3 separate regions of the Homo sapiens genome follow, and regions 2 and 3 are each linked to region 1. The links are contacts of gene promoters, found by promoter capture Hi-C in blood cells and fetal thymus (Javierre and others, 2016). All regions are on one chromosome and are shown on one strand. Each heading gives the region's core, a stretch centred on a gene start or on the middle of the fragment in contact. The rest is flanking DNA. Distances are from core to core; before and after follow the strand shown. Region 1 holds the start of CCDC174 (coiled-coil domain containing 174). Region 2 holds the start of ZDHHC3 (zDHHC palmitoyltransferase 3). Region 3 overlaps DCP1A (decapping mRNA 1A).

What was found. Contacts are between HindIII fragments. The CHiCAGO score rates a contact against its expected background, and 5 or more counts as called.
Region 2: a contact is called between the fragment with the promoter of ZDHHC3 here and the fragment with the promoter of CCDC174 in region 1, in 1 of 17 cell types (total B cells). The highest score is 6.7, in total B cells.
Region 3: a contact is called between a fragment that was not itself captured here and the fragment with the promoter of CCDC174 in region 1, in 1 of 17 cell types (total B cells). The highest score is 7.0, in total B cells.

The regions. Positions count from the first base shown.
Region 1 is chr3:14,650,397-14,655,271 of GRCh38, forward strand. CCDC174 (coiled-coil domain containing 174) reads left to right here and starts at 1,366. Exons shown (of 11, transcript NM_016474.5): 1 at 1,366-1,482; 2 at 4,030-4,134. The coding sequence starts at 1,441. LOC124909347 (a long non-coding RNA gene) reads right to left here and starts at 1,725. Exons shown (of 2, transcript XR_007095826.1): 1 at 1,273-1,725; 2 at 1-830. RefSeq lists enhancers at 907-1,565, 1,069-1,468, 1,609-1,678. The HindIII fragment of the contact is 1,793 bases long and covers 1,138-2,930 here.
Region 2 is chr3:44,974,336-44,978,912 of GRCh38, forward strand. ZDHHC3 (zDHHC palmitoyltransferase 3) reads right to left here and starts at 1,839. Exons shown (of 7, transcript NM_001135179.2): 1 at 1,598-1,839. It overlaps EXOSC7 (exosome component 7), which reads left to right and starts at 1,909. Exons shown (of 8, transcript NM_015004.4): 1 at 1,909-1,999. The coding sequence starts at 1,943. RefSeq lists an enhancer at 819-1,363 and silencers at 1,586-1,685, 1,806-1,875. The HindIII fragment of the contact is 4,817 bases long and covers 1-2,236 here.
Region 3 is chr3:53,341,129-53,345,845 of GRCh38, forward strand. DCP1A (decapping mRNA 1A) reads right to left here. Exons shown (of 10, transcript NM_018403.7): 2 at 3,774-3,814; 3 at 1,016-1,143. Among named protein-coding and RNA genes, the nearest start is that of DCP1A, 4.1 kb to the right of the region's middle. The HindIII fragment of the contact is 785 bases long and covers 2,137-2,921 here.

The DNA of each region.
Region 1 (4,875 bases), core at 116-2,615:
CACCGTGTCAGCAATGCTGCATTCCTTCTGGAGACTCTGGAGGAGGGCTCATTTCTTTGCTTTTTCTAGCGGCCTCCTGCATACCTAGGCATGTGGTCCCACTCTCCCTCTTCAAAGCATCTCTGATCTCTGTCTGACTCTGGCCATCCTGTCTACCCCTTATAAGGATGGTTTTGATGATAGGGGACCCACCTGCACAATCCAGGCTAGCTCCCCATCTCAATCGCTTTAATTTCATCATCTCTGCCAATTCTCTTTTGCTATATAAAGGTCACCATATACCCAGATTCTGGGGATTAGAAGGTAGACATCTGGGAGTCGGGGTGAGGGTGATTGGTCTGTCTACCATAATCATTAACATTTTTATCAAGACTAGCTCATTTAACTCATCTAATCCTCACTAAGACCCATTAGGTAAATAAAATTATATCCCCCTTTGGAAACTGAGGCACACGGAAGTTAAGTAACTTGCCCAAGGTCACACAAGCAGTAAGCCGTGAAGAGCGATTCCAACCCAGAAAGTCAGCTTTCGAGTTCACGTGTTCTTTGTTTTTTTTTTTTTTGATCTCGACTCACTGCAACCTCCACCTCCCAGGTTCAAGCGATTCTTCTGCCTCAGCCTCCTGAGTAGCTGGGAATACAGGCGCGCACCACCACGCTCGGCTAATTTTTTTTTTTTCTTGTATTTTCAGCAGAGACGGGGTTTCACCATGTTGGTCAGGCTGGTCTCAAACTCCTGACCTCCTGATCCACCCGCCTCAGCCTCCCAAAGTGCTGGGATTACAGGCGTGAGCCACCGCGCCCGGCCCAGGAGTTCACGTTCTTAAGAGCTGAAATATGTAAAGTGGCCCATAATAAGCACTACATTAATGTTAGCTATTATTCTTGTTATTTCTACTAAGATTAATATAATAATCCTTATCTCGTACGCTCTTTTAAGAACCAACTATTTAACGTGTGAAAAGTGCCAGGCAGCAGGTCCTGGAATTGCAGTTAAGATTCTTCCGGTCCTCCCAATCCACCTTTCCCGAGACGCTCGAGTTCACTTACTTAAGCGTCAGCCTTCCCCAAGATGGCGTTATCTTTGTCGCCAACCCCACATCCGCCCCACCCAATATGGCGTCCATCGCAATCAAAAGCTTTATTCCGCCCTTCTCAAGATGGCGCCCACACCAATCCTTGTTACCTTCCGCCCTCAAGATGACCTTAGCAGTTAGCGTCAACCTCCGCACTCTATGACCTTTCCAAAATGATGGTGAACGTAATACGCACCACACTCTGACCTTCTCAAGATGGCGCTGAGCTGACAAACTCGCGTCGCAAACTCACGCAAACTCAGTGTCGCTGTCGAAGACACTTCCGGTTGCGACGGAGGTAGGCTTACGAGGCCTGTGTCGGGTAGAAAGGGTCCTTCCTGGACCGGGACCCTCTGCCACGACCATGGACCGTAGGAAAAAGCCTTTGGACGTCACGGCCTCCTCGGTGAGTGAGGGTATGAGGTAACTCCACGGGCTCCGGGTTCACCGTGTCTCCATCAGACAAGAATGTCGACCTAGCTTGTTTCTTCACTCGGGGACCCAGAGACCTGACCTCTCCCCTCAAACAGGAACCCCCGAACTGGATTTTCTTCTCCGGCGGGGATCCGGTTCAGTTTTCTTACAGGACCCTGAATTGGGCTACTCTCCTCTGACATGCGCCCGGGCCAGAACCCTCGGACACGGATCTGAACCTGGTGTCCCGTGGGTTAGGAAACTCCGTGCCTCACCTCTGCCCTGCCCACAAGGACCTGCACCTCGTCAGCCTTCTCCCTTACAGTCAGGAGGAACCCTAGCTTCTTTTTGCTATGCAGACATATCCTCTTCCTGGTTTCTCCTCCATCCAGGGACCCACAAAGTCCTCCCAGAACTTTAGAGTGTGACATATTTCGCAGGACCCGAAAGTGTCCAGCGTGCCCTCCCTGGAACTAAACAGTTGTTAATGCAGGCATAGGGAGTTGTGAGGTCTGAAAGGATGTAAGCAGATTTATTACATCAGCTACTCTAGAAAGAAAACTTGTTCTAAGTACACATTTTGTGCCAGCACTTTATATGCACTATCTCATTGAATCCTCCCAATGGCTTTAGGAGGTAGGTGCTATTAATATCTCCGTTTTATGGATGATGAAATTGAGGCCTGGAAAGATGAAGTAGCTTTCCCCAGCTTACAGACAGAAATCTTAGTGATAGCCGGGCGCGGTGACTCACGCCTGTAATCCCAACACTTTGGGAGGCTGAGGCGGGCAGATCACCTGAGGTCGGGAGTTTGAGACCAGTCTGACCAACATGGAGAAACCCCGTCTCTACTAAAAATAAAAAAATTAGCCGGGCGTGGTGGTGCACGCCTGTAATCCCAGCTACTCGGGAAGCTGAGGCAGGAGAATCGCTTGAACCGGGGAGGCGGAGGTTGCGGTGAGCCGAGATCGCGCAATTGCACTCCAACCTGGGCAACAAGAGCGAAACTCCGTCTAAGGGGCGGGGGGCGGGGGGAAGAAATCTTAGTGATAGACCCTTTCTCACTCACTCTACTTGACTCCAAAGCTGCTGCCTTTTCATCATCAGAGCAAATTGCCCAACCTTTGATTTAATCTTGAATTTACTTCAGAGTATTAGGACACAAAGTGAGTAGGAAGGAAAACATATAGGTGTCCCAATATTTGAGTACTAGTTATTATTGGTAACTATTATTGGTTAAAATTGGTACCAGTTATTATTTTGTTTGAAGATCAGGAACCAGAAAGCTATAAATATTAAAGCCAACCTATACTGACAGGTTAGCAGTAATTGTAATAAGAATGCTATTTGAGAATTTACATTTTTTTGAGCATCTCTTAAAGTTAAAGGCAGTTGTAGACTAGGAAGATATGTGGCTGGAAAATTTGGTGTGGTTAAGTAAGCTTAGAAGAAAAAGTAGAAGTTTTTCATTTGTTTTTAAAAATTTCCAGTATTAGGGTCTGCAGTGAAACTGCCCTTTGCATTATTAAATGGTTACCTTTTAAATCGATTTCTTCCAAAACGGAAATTGAACCCAGCCATTTTTATCTTCCTTAACAAATAAAGTGATTTTTTTAAGTATCTGATGATTAAGACAGTGATGAAGTATCTGATTTACAAATGCCCATCCATATAAGCAGCTGTACCTGGACCATTAAAAAGGAAACTGTTGTTATATCCTTTTTTGCAGAGTAGGCAGGGGTAATTAATGTAGCTGAGGGAAAGGTACTAATATTCACCCAACTGCCCCACTCCCTATGCCTTGGCCTTCTTTCCTGTTCTTGAACCGTGTGATTCAGCCAAGCTTACGGTTTTTGAAATGGATTAAGTCAAACGTGGAGCTGTTATAATTCACCCAGTCTATTTTATTTCTAGCTGTTGAAATAATGTGTCTTTAAAGGCTCTGCTCTAAGCTTTCTCTGATCACTCTGCTCAGAAGGAAATGCTCTGTTATCTGAACTTATGTGCTACTTTCTTCCACTCTAGAGTCATTTGTTTTATTTTGTTGGTAGTATAAATTACTTTCCTTGTTACATTGTAGGCTCTTTGAGGCAGAGAGTATGTCTAATTCATGTTTATGTTCTGCTCTTCAGCGTTATTTCTACAGCATTTCACTGTAGAAATAAGTTGTGATGATGAAATGAGTGCAGTGCTAGTCAGAGAGAAGGTGCTTAATAATGCAAGTTTAATCTGAAACTAAAAGATGCAGACTTTATTAATTTATTTTGCTTTATCACTTTCTCCTTGCCTAAGGAAAGCCTCGAGTGTTGAAAGTCAGAGTAAAAATGCATTTGCAGCAGAGGTAGAATGAAACATGACTTAGCTTAATTTGTGTACTGGATTCTACATTTAAACATTTAGTTACTTAAACATTTAGTTTTTTAGCCATATTTGTCCATTTAGCGGAACTTGAAATATTCCTTTGGAAATTATAATAATTTAGCAATCCAGTCACCTGCAGGAATTTAATATTTTTGTTTACTTACTGCTTTCATTCTAGTTGGTAGATCTTAAGGCTGAACTCTTCCGAAAGCAAGAAGAATTCAAACAAGAAAAACTTCTAAAAGATTCTGGAGTTTTTGGAAAACCAAAAACAACTAACAAGGTAAAAAATAAGATCTAATTATCTCCATTGGTTCCAAACATGGGAGAATTATACCATATTTAAGTGTTTTAAAATTGTCAGTGGTATCTGTACACATAAATGTTAAGGAAAAATCTCTATCTTGTATTTAACATCTGCATGAAATGTTATTAAAATAGAAATTAGTAAGATTATATAAAAGTACATAGTAATGTGCTAATTCTTTAGCACTTCTTTTGGAAAAATGTGGATTGTTTACATTTCATAAACAGATGGAAGGTTATCTGGTTCTATAAGTGTTAGGTATCCAAATAGAGATAAACAATTAGATAATATAGGAATATAGCGGAAAATATCAGGGTGTATAAGAGCTGTGAATTTTTCCAGTTTTATAGGTAATAGTGTCTACTATTTGTATTACTAATTCTCTGTAATATGTACATTTTCATTAATCTTGATTTAGGTTGTAATCATTCAGGAGATAAAAGATAGTAGGAAGTGATTCTGCACTCAGGAAGCTCTTTAGGCTGGGCGTGGTTCCCACGCCTCTAATCCCATCTCTTTGGAAGGCCGAGGCAGGCAGATCACTTGACCCCAGGAGTTCGAGACCCGCCTGAGCAACATGGCAAAACCCCGTCTCTACAAAAAAAAATTAGTCAGGCATGGTGGTGCGCACCTGTATTCCCAGCTACTTGGGAAGCTGAGGTGGGAGGATCACTTGAGCCCAGGATGTTGAGGCTGCAGTGAGCTGAGATCGCACCA
Region 2 (4,577 bases), core at 589-3,088, about 30 Mb after region 1:
ATCTGAACTCAGGCTTTTCTTCCTGTGTCTTTCTGATCTGTCCATTTGCTGTCACCTCTTAAATCCTCAGTCTCCTCAGATATCCTAGCTTCTAAAATCCCACTTCCAGGGTCTCTCCTTTCTGAGCAATCTCTAGCACATCTAGAAAATATCATTTATAACATCAGCAATCTCATGTTATCTTATCACAACAGAGCTCCTCACATAAAACCCAGCCGTCCAACCACACACAAACACATCTAAGTGCCACAACAGGTGGGGCACCTGTGCCTTCATTAGGGAGGAAATCCTTCCGGCTTCACCTCTTTCAGTTTCCCTGGAAGGCAAAGTCCAACCCTGCAAGCTGTCTTCCTTTTAGGTGCCCCTGTGGAGAATTACGTAGAGACATAAGAAACATCTAATGTCCAGTCTACGAAGAACTGATCATCAATTTTGGAGCTCAGCAGTTTAATGCTTAAGAATGTGAGCAAGCACTTCCTCTCTATAACCTTATCAGACGACCTCCCAATCCCACTGTGCCCACTGATGCGACCATCATAGCTCTAACCACCATGATCTGTGGTTATGTTGGCCCTGGAGCCTTCATCTGCCCAGGGAACTTCTCTGGGCATAGTATGTTTTACTTGTCTTGTGTTCTAAAGGTAGCACAAAGCCTATCTATAGTAGGCTCCCAATAGTTATCTGAAACTGTATTTGAACCCACTATCTGATAAATACCATTTTTTTTTTTTTTTGGCTGAGGGTCCTCAAAAATGGAACATCAGGAAAGTCATCAGAATTGCTTTAACCTGCCCTCCTTGCTTCAACTAATTTGGGTTAACTTTCTCCCATTTATCCACACGGCTCCTTTAAAACTTGCACCATACTTTGTCAGCCCCGCCTTAATGAGTTCCTTTGGTGACCCCAGCTTCACCTTGCAGATATCCTCTCCGGGTATCCAATGCCCATACTCCCACTCGGCCATCGCAAGGGGTTGGGGTTGGCTTTTTTTCGGGCAACTGCTCACAGCTCCCAGTAATCACTTCCATCAAGCCGGGGTTTCCAGTTCCCGCTAGGAAGCGTTGGGGACGTCCGGGCACTGCGCACCTCGCCAGTGCCGGTTACCAAGCGCCTCCTCCCCCGTCTGTGGGACAACGCTCTGGTAAGCACCCGAGGCAAGAGGTCCCAGCAAGGTAATGGGACAGCGTTCGGTCACAGAGAGTGAGCGAGCCAGCGAGAGATATTCCTGGGTGGAGGGGTGGGGACGCCTTAGGACTAGTGTCCCCCATTCCCGGACCCTTCCCACCAAGAACTACCTAGGGAGGGCTGCATCGCCTCTCCAGCCATCCTAGGGACTAGAGAAATGGAGGGGAGAAGAGCAGGGAAACAGCACCCCCGGGCCAATCACGACGTCCGCCCCTCCTTAGTCGGGGTCTCTCTCTCTCTCTCTCTCTCTCTCACACACACACACACACACACACACACACACACGCTCCTAAGTCAACTCCAGCTCTGAGCAACTACGCCGCACGCCTCTCCCACTGGGAGTCCCCCGGCCCGTGAGGCTCGCCTCACCCCAGCTTCTTCACCCCTACCCCAGTTTCCCTTCCCAACTGACCGTGAAGCCGGAGGCAGTTCCCCAGTCCCAGACCCCGGTGGGGCTCCCGCCGCCGCCGCCGCTGCCTTCCCCTGCAGTCCCCAACCCGGGACCCGGCCTCGGGCTTCGGCGATGGCTCCTCGGAACGAGGCGCCGCGGCTCTCTGGACTCGGCCAGACACCGGGCGGCGCGCAGGAGAAGCCCATCGAGCTCTCCCGGCAGTGGCGGCGGCCGCGGCTGCAGGAGCGGCCGCCGCGCAGGTTGATGACGCGCTGACGCGGGGCGGGGGGGGGTGGGACGTGGGGGCGCGGTCCAGAGGAGGGGACGCGCGCAGATGACGTGCGGCTCGTGGGGCAGCTCGGCAGCATGGCGTCCGTGACGCTGAGCGAGGCGGAGAAGGTGTACATCGTGCATGGCGTCCAGGTAGCTACAGCAGCGGCGTTGGGTCGGCCGCCGGGTTCAGCCTGGCCCTGCGGGTCGCGGCCTGCCCTGGGTTTGCCAGTGAGGAGGCAGCCGAGCTGCGGCGACTCTCCGTTTACCTTGTGATTAAACGGTTCTGCTGCCGGCGTTTGCAATTCAGAGCTGGCAACGTGGACGTTTTTAGGACTGTTAGCGCATTTGCAGTTTTGCGGGTCTATAAGATTCCGAACCCGGGCAGGAAGCTTGGGCAGTCTCGGAGGCCTTTTCTTAGTGAGAGAGCATCGGCCCCAGGGCCATCCATTCGGCGTTCGCGCACAGATCTTGTCCGAGCCTCAGTTTTCTCTTCGAGGAAATGGGAGTTTGGAGGTGGGCTTCTGGCCTGCTTTTCCTCACCTCGTGGTTAGGAGGGCGCATGCGAGGTGAACGCACTTTGAAAATACAAATTGCCGTACAAATAAAGGGGGAAGGGTTTTTAAAAAGCGGCTAGGACGCCTGTAATCCCAGCACTTTGGGAGGCCGAGGCGGGCGGATCACGAGGTCAAGAGACCGTCCTGACCAACATGGTGAAACCCCGTCTCTGCTAAAAATACAAAAAAATTTAGCTGGGCGTGGTGGCGCACGCCTGTAGTCCCAGCTACTCGGGAGACTGAGGCAGGAGAATCGCTTGAACCCGGGAGGCGGAGGTTGCAGTGAGCCGAGTCTCAAAAAAAAAGCGGCTAGGCAGCCGATAGCCTAAGTGCTGTTTCCATTTTGCCAATGAAGAACTAAGATCCCTAGGCAGCTATAACCTAATGTCCTCTGTGTTCTATATTAAATCCCTGGTTATGACCACTCCAGAACGAGGGTTGAAAAATGTTGGACCTGGTAACGAGCTACCCTGTATCCTCCTCCGGCTGTGTCTCCACTTGTTAACCTACGGTGTGGTCCTCCTATCAGAGTTCTTCATCCCATCCTTGGCAGAGTTCTGGCGACAGCTCCTACCTCTTTTCCTCATGCCTTTCCTCTGTCAGTACCAACTGCAAAGTCAGTGGTCCCGTGATGTAGCCATCGGATTGAAGCGGCCAGCTATCATTGAAGTCCCACAACGTGAGTTAAGGACATGTCCATTTAAAAATCGTGACCTGCCGTTATCTTCTGGGCCCTTTATATATGAAGAAATGCCAATATTTAGCATATTATGCCTGGATAATAAAGTCAGAACTCACAGTTGCATATTTTAGTTATAATTCAGGATTAACAACAGTGGGACATATGTGTGTATTACAGGGTAACATGTATGTTATTTGTGTGTGAGGGGGCATAAAAATGCCCAAAAGCAGTTAGATATGTCTTTCCCTGCTATATTTTTGTATACACTTTGTTCAGGTGATTTTTATCCTCAAAGTATTTTTTTAGGGACACATTACGGATAACCGTTTTCCTCTAAATTTAAAAACCTTTGGTCTTCTTTGTTACCGGAGCTTACCATGATGTAGTGACTCTGTCATGTGTCCTATTTTCTCTCAACATTTCATCCCTGAAAGTGGCACTGAGGCATGGATATATCTGTAACCTCAAGGTTAGAGCTTTCTCCCCAGCACCCTTAATTCCCACGGCAGTTCATTAGCTATCCAGCAGCAGAGTCCCACCATGGTCATTAGTTAATTTTATTTACCAACATATATCTAGCTCCTGGCATGTTATGTGGGAAACAGCAGGGATGCCAAAACATGGTTGTGAAATAAATGAAAGATAGGAGGGAGACAAACAGAGAGTAAAAGTGAATAAAATAAAAACAAAGGTAATGTAAGATCTATGCCAAGGAAGTGGTATAGTTAGTGGAGGTTGAAGTTAAAGTATACCAGGGGCCGGGCATTGTGGCTCACGCCTGTAATCCCAGCACTTTGAAAGGCTGAGATGGGAGGATTGCTTGAGCCTAGGAGTTTGAGACCAGCTTGGGCAACACAGTGAGAGCCCATCTCTAAAGAAATAATTTTTTTTTAATAAATAAAAAGAATTCCAGGGACTTGTAATGCTCTGAAGGCTTCCCTAAGGAGGTGGAATTGCTCCCCTAAATCCATGTCAAGGATTCCTCCTCTGTATCTTCAGGACTCAGTATTCATTCATTCAACACAGAACTGAGCTAGACTCAGGGGCTAGGAAGGAACCTGTCCTTATATAGCTCTCATGCTAGAAGGAAGATGCAGAAACTATAAATGTACTTGAGTGTTTATATATAAAATTGTACTGAATGCTATGAAGGAAAAAACGGACACGATCTAGACTGGGAGGTCAGAGGAGGCTTCCCTAAGGAAATAGCATTTGAACTGAGTTCTCAGCATGACTGAGAATTAAGTAGGCACCAGTGTTCCAGAAGGAAGGGGTGGTGAGTCTGTAAATCCTCAGGTGGAGGACATGTGGAGCCCAAGGGGTGGGCTGGGGGAAATGGTGGAAGATCAGCTTGCAGAGGTGGCCAGAAGCACGATCCTAGAGGTCTTAGAGGTTCAGTCATTCGCTCATCATGGATCTTGGAAGGCAATAGCCTGTTGACTTGTCTGTATGGGGGACCCTTAAGGCATAGCCAGTGTCTAGCACTTGGTAG
Region 3 (4,717 bases), core at 1,279-3,778, about 39 Mb after region 1:
AAAAAAACCCATCACCACTATTCTGGGCAAAAATAATATTTTCTGGCCGGGCGTGGTGGCTCATGCCTATAATCCCAGCATTTTGGGAGGCCGAGGCAGGCAGATCACAAGGTCAGGAGATCAAGACCATCCTGGCTAACACGGTGAAACCCCTTCTCTACCAAAAATACAAAAAAATTAGCCAGGCGTGGTGGCGGGTGCCTGTAGTCCCAGCTACTTGGGAGGCCGAGCCAGGAGAAGGGCATGAATCCGGGAGGCAGAGCTTGCATGAGCCTAGATCACACCACTGCACTCCAGCCTGGGCAACAGAGCAAGACTCCGTCTCAAAAAAAAGAAAATAATAATAGTAATAATAATACTTTCTTTGTGGAAAGAATTATCTGTATCTGTTCCCATCCTGTGTGTCCCAAACTAAGTTCTGTTGCTTAGGGACATGGGCAGCTGATAGTCCACAGCTGCAAAAAAACAAAGGCATAAACCTTATTTTAATAAACCGACAACAGAAATGTAGTGCTATTAAATGAAATAGTAAACTAAATTATATACAAAAGAATGTTTCCAGTTTCAGAGCCCAGTTTATTTATTTATTTTTTTGAGACACAGTCTCATTCTGTTGCCCAGGCTGGAGTACAGTGGCGCGATCTCAGCTCACTGCAACCTCCACCTCCCAGGTTCAAGTGATTACAGGCGCCTGCCACCAAGCCCGGCTAATTTTTTTCTGTATTTTTAGTAGATACGGGGTTTCACCATGTTGGCCTGGCTGGTCTCGAACTCCTGACCTCAAGTGATCTGCCCTCCTCGGCCTCCCAAAGTGCTGGGATTACAGGCATGAGCCACCACCTCTGGCCTCAGAGCCCAGTTTAAAAGGTTTGATCTTTCCAACAGACTCATTTATAATCATTAAGTAGAGACCATATTTTGTTTTGTAATTTGAAACTTCCTAAATAATGGATTGATAGAAACTAAAGTCACTCAATTTTAAATGTAATAACTATAATAAAACAGATATACTCACAGCTTGCATTTCTATACAGAAGAAATGGTTCATGGAGCTGAAATTCCAAATCTTTATTCACTGGTTCAACTAGATTGTGCATATTTAGTCGATTCACAATGGTAAAACCATGGTAAGGGGAAGCTGACCTTAGATTTAATAGAAGAAAAAAAAATATGTAGTTACCATTTAATCTGTAGAAATGTTATCTACTATGTACTTTATTTTCATTTCAAAAAAGAATGCATTAGAACATTATACAATATTATCAGCACTTACATCTGTAAACAAAAAATTTAAGTCAGATCATACTCCTCCTCTGACGAGAAGTCTCCAAAGACAGTCTCTCAGAGTAAAGGCCAAAGTCCTTACTGAGGCCACCAAGGCCCCACCTGATATACTCCCCACTCTGACTTCATTTCCTATGGCTCTTCTCCAGCTCCTACTCTCCAGCCACACCGGGCTCCTTGCCACTCTCTCTGCGTGTGTGCTTCTACCTAAAAACCTCTTCCTGGATTACTGCCCCAGAAGCTGCACAGCTATCTCATCTCCTCCAAGCCTTTGTTCAGATGTCACCTTTTTCATGAGGCCTACTTGAACTATCCTTTTTAATGCTCCCAAGCTCAATATCTCTAACCTTCCTCTTTTATCCATACCACTTATTTTTAGTATTTATTGTCCTCCCCCCACTAGGATGTAAGCCCCATGCAAATGGAGCTTTTGTCTTACTTTTTTCATACATATATCCCAAGATAGACACACAGTTGCTGAATGAAATATCATTCAATTGGATTGGCTATAATGGCTGCCCATCATTACAATAATGTTTTTCTTGCAACAAATAGATATTTACATAGCGCTCCTGAGTTAGACGGAAAATGCCTTGAATCCTACAATAGGAAACATCCTTGGTTCCCATATCAGAGGGATTCGGTACATGATCCTTTACTCTTCACATGTACCTAACACTTCACCGTTTTTCATTTGTTTCTCTACGATATACCCGGGGTGTTAACAGAACACTATTCTATAGATTAGGAGACAAGCTTTGAATGATAAGGCCTGTGCCTGAGGTCACACAAATAATGAGTTACAAATAATATAACTAGGATTCAGTTTCAGGTTTTTTGACTCCAAATCCAAGCTTCTACTATATGAAGTAATAGCTGCAAAGTGACAGTCTGACATCCTGGTATACCTTTATCCAAGGTACGCAAAATAGTCTCACATTTTCCAAACACAGTTTCTTGCGTCTCCTTTAATTAGAATCAGTACCATATAAGCCTCCGTGAATTGTATTAAATCCAGCCACCCACTACACTAAATCTCCTACTTTCTACAATCAGTGCCTCTGTATGATAACAATAAAGCCAGTAAAGTACTTTTACCAAATATCATAGAAACTAAGGTTCTAATAACAGAGTTTCTAGAGATTTATATTGCTAATGAAGAGTAATGAAGGGAGTGAGGGTAAAGATCCTTTCCTATTAATTTATTTATTTTTTATGAGAGGGAGTCTCGCTCTGTCACCCAGGCTGGAGTGCAGTGGCACGACCTCGGCTCACTGCAAGCTCCGCCTCCTGGGTTCACGATATTCTCCTGCCTCAGCCTCTCAAGTAGCTGGGACTACAGGTGCCTGCCACCATGCCCAGCTAATTTTTTGTATTTTTAGTAGAGACAGGGTTTCACCGTGTTAGCCAGGATGGTCTTGATCTCCTGACCTCGTGATCCGCCCACCTCGGCCTCCCAAAGTGCTGGGATTACAGGCGTGAGCCACTGCACCCGGCCGATCCCTTCCTTTTTAAAAGCAGAAAGATGAATAGCAGGGAACAAAGAAAGTGTCTAAGAAAAAAGAGCTTGGTGTACAAATATCAAAGAATTACACTTAAAAGAAGAAAAAAATGAGTGCATTTAGACGAGATCTCAAAGCTTTGTATCAAAATTTAGAAGAGTATTTGACAAATTCTTTTAAATTGGCATCAATGGAGAAAGGCAATCCTTATGAAGCAACTCAATACAAAAAAAAAAGGGAAAAGACCAGATATCAGTAATAACTCCTGCTGACTCCCTAAGCTTTAGAAAACAAGGGAAGGAACCTGCCCTTGTAAGAGTTAAGACCTTAGAGGAATCCAGGAAAACAAGTACCCCATGACTATCATATACTGTCAGTTGTCTTTAGGCCCCAAAAGCTGCCTAACAAAAAAGTTGCAATTTGCAAACCAATCTTAAAGATAATGAATTTTTGAATAAGTCAAAAATAAAAAATACGCCATCATGAATAATCCAAGCTTTCTAAAGAACTCTCAAATAAGACACTGTACATAATCCAGAACTTCTGTGGGTTGGGAAAGAGGACAGAACCAGTCATAAAAGACAACCACTCATGTAGTAATGAAAGAACAGAGGGATCGACCTCTCAATAACATTATTTTACAGAGCCAGTCTATGTATTGTCTTTTCCCCAAATATATATCTTTCTTTTTCTTTCTAATATGGGGGTAGGAAGAGAGACGCAGGCATCCATTTTAGACTCAATCATTATTATTTTGAAATTGCTTTGCTAGGCTGGTAATATAAATTCTAGTTCAGTTTATTCTGAATCACAGAAAGGCTCAGAGAAAAGAAAGAACCTGGTTAAGATTTCACAGCTAGGGAAAGATGAAAACTTGAAGGGTACTAGCAGGACGGTTCCAAAGACAAATGTACAAGAGAATTGAACCGTTTCACATTGTTCACCACTAGACTGTTAAAAACAAATATACATATTTTAAAAACTTACCTTCGATATACGAATAAGGTCCCTTCTATATCAGTCTTCTCCTATGAAAGACAATGACTCAATTAGTTTTTTTTCCCCATAATCAGACCCCAAATAGTCCCCATGGAGAAGTAATGCTTCACGTTTAAGATCAACTTGTTTCATTTCATCTATTATAAAATTAACCACTTTTGAACAGGTAAAGTCTCCCTCTCATTCCACAAATTGTGGTTACCATTTCTAATGTATCCTTTCAGTGCATAAGCATATGCAATATTTAATCCAGCAACATATCTGTATCTGCAGTATTTTTCTTTTTTAATTAGTAAAGGAGAAAATCATAGAATAAACCTTCACTTTTTATAGCTAAAATATTTTAGCCAGATTTCTTAACTTTAAAGCTAAGGTCCTGTATACTGCAATTTCTTCTCTTTTAAGTTTATCCAAGTTAATTTTAAAAAAGGAAAGGAATGAAACTTTCTTATAGGATACTTTGTTTCATCACTAGGGAGTTTTCGTACATTTTGACAACTAGCAAATTTTGTGGTTAAGAATTACTACCAAACAAAATCAGCTTGTTATTTTTAGAACTTGAAGAATCTTGAATACTGAAAGTATACCCTGCCTCAGTGTAATTATTGGAGGCCTTTACCATAGTTCATTTTCTGTGACAAGAGTGTATTTAGGTTTTAAACACAGTTCAGTGTTTTTTAAAAAATAAATAAGCTTATTAGTCTGCAATTTACAGCCTACAATGGACCTAAATATTTTACTGTAATCAACGCATTATTAACATTTTAAATGTTAGTCATATATTGAATGTGTTGGGATTAAAAAATTTAGAAAATTGATCATCTCGATTTCTTCCAGAAGTACTACCCTAGCTTAAATATCATTATTTTCCTTCCTAAGGATTCAGAGGCTTTTTCTTACCTTTAAAATGTTAGGTTATTACTATAAGAAAC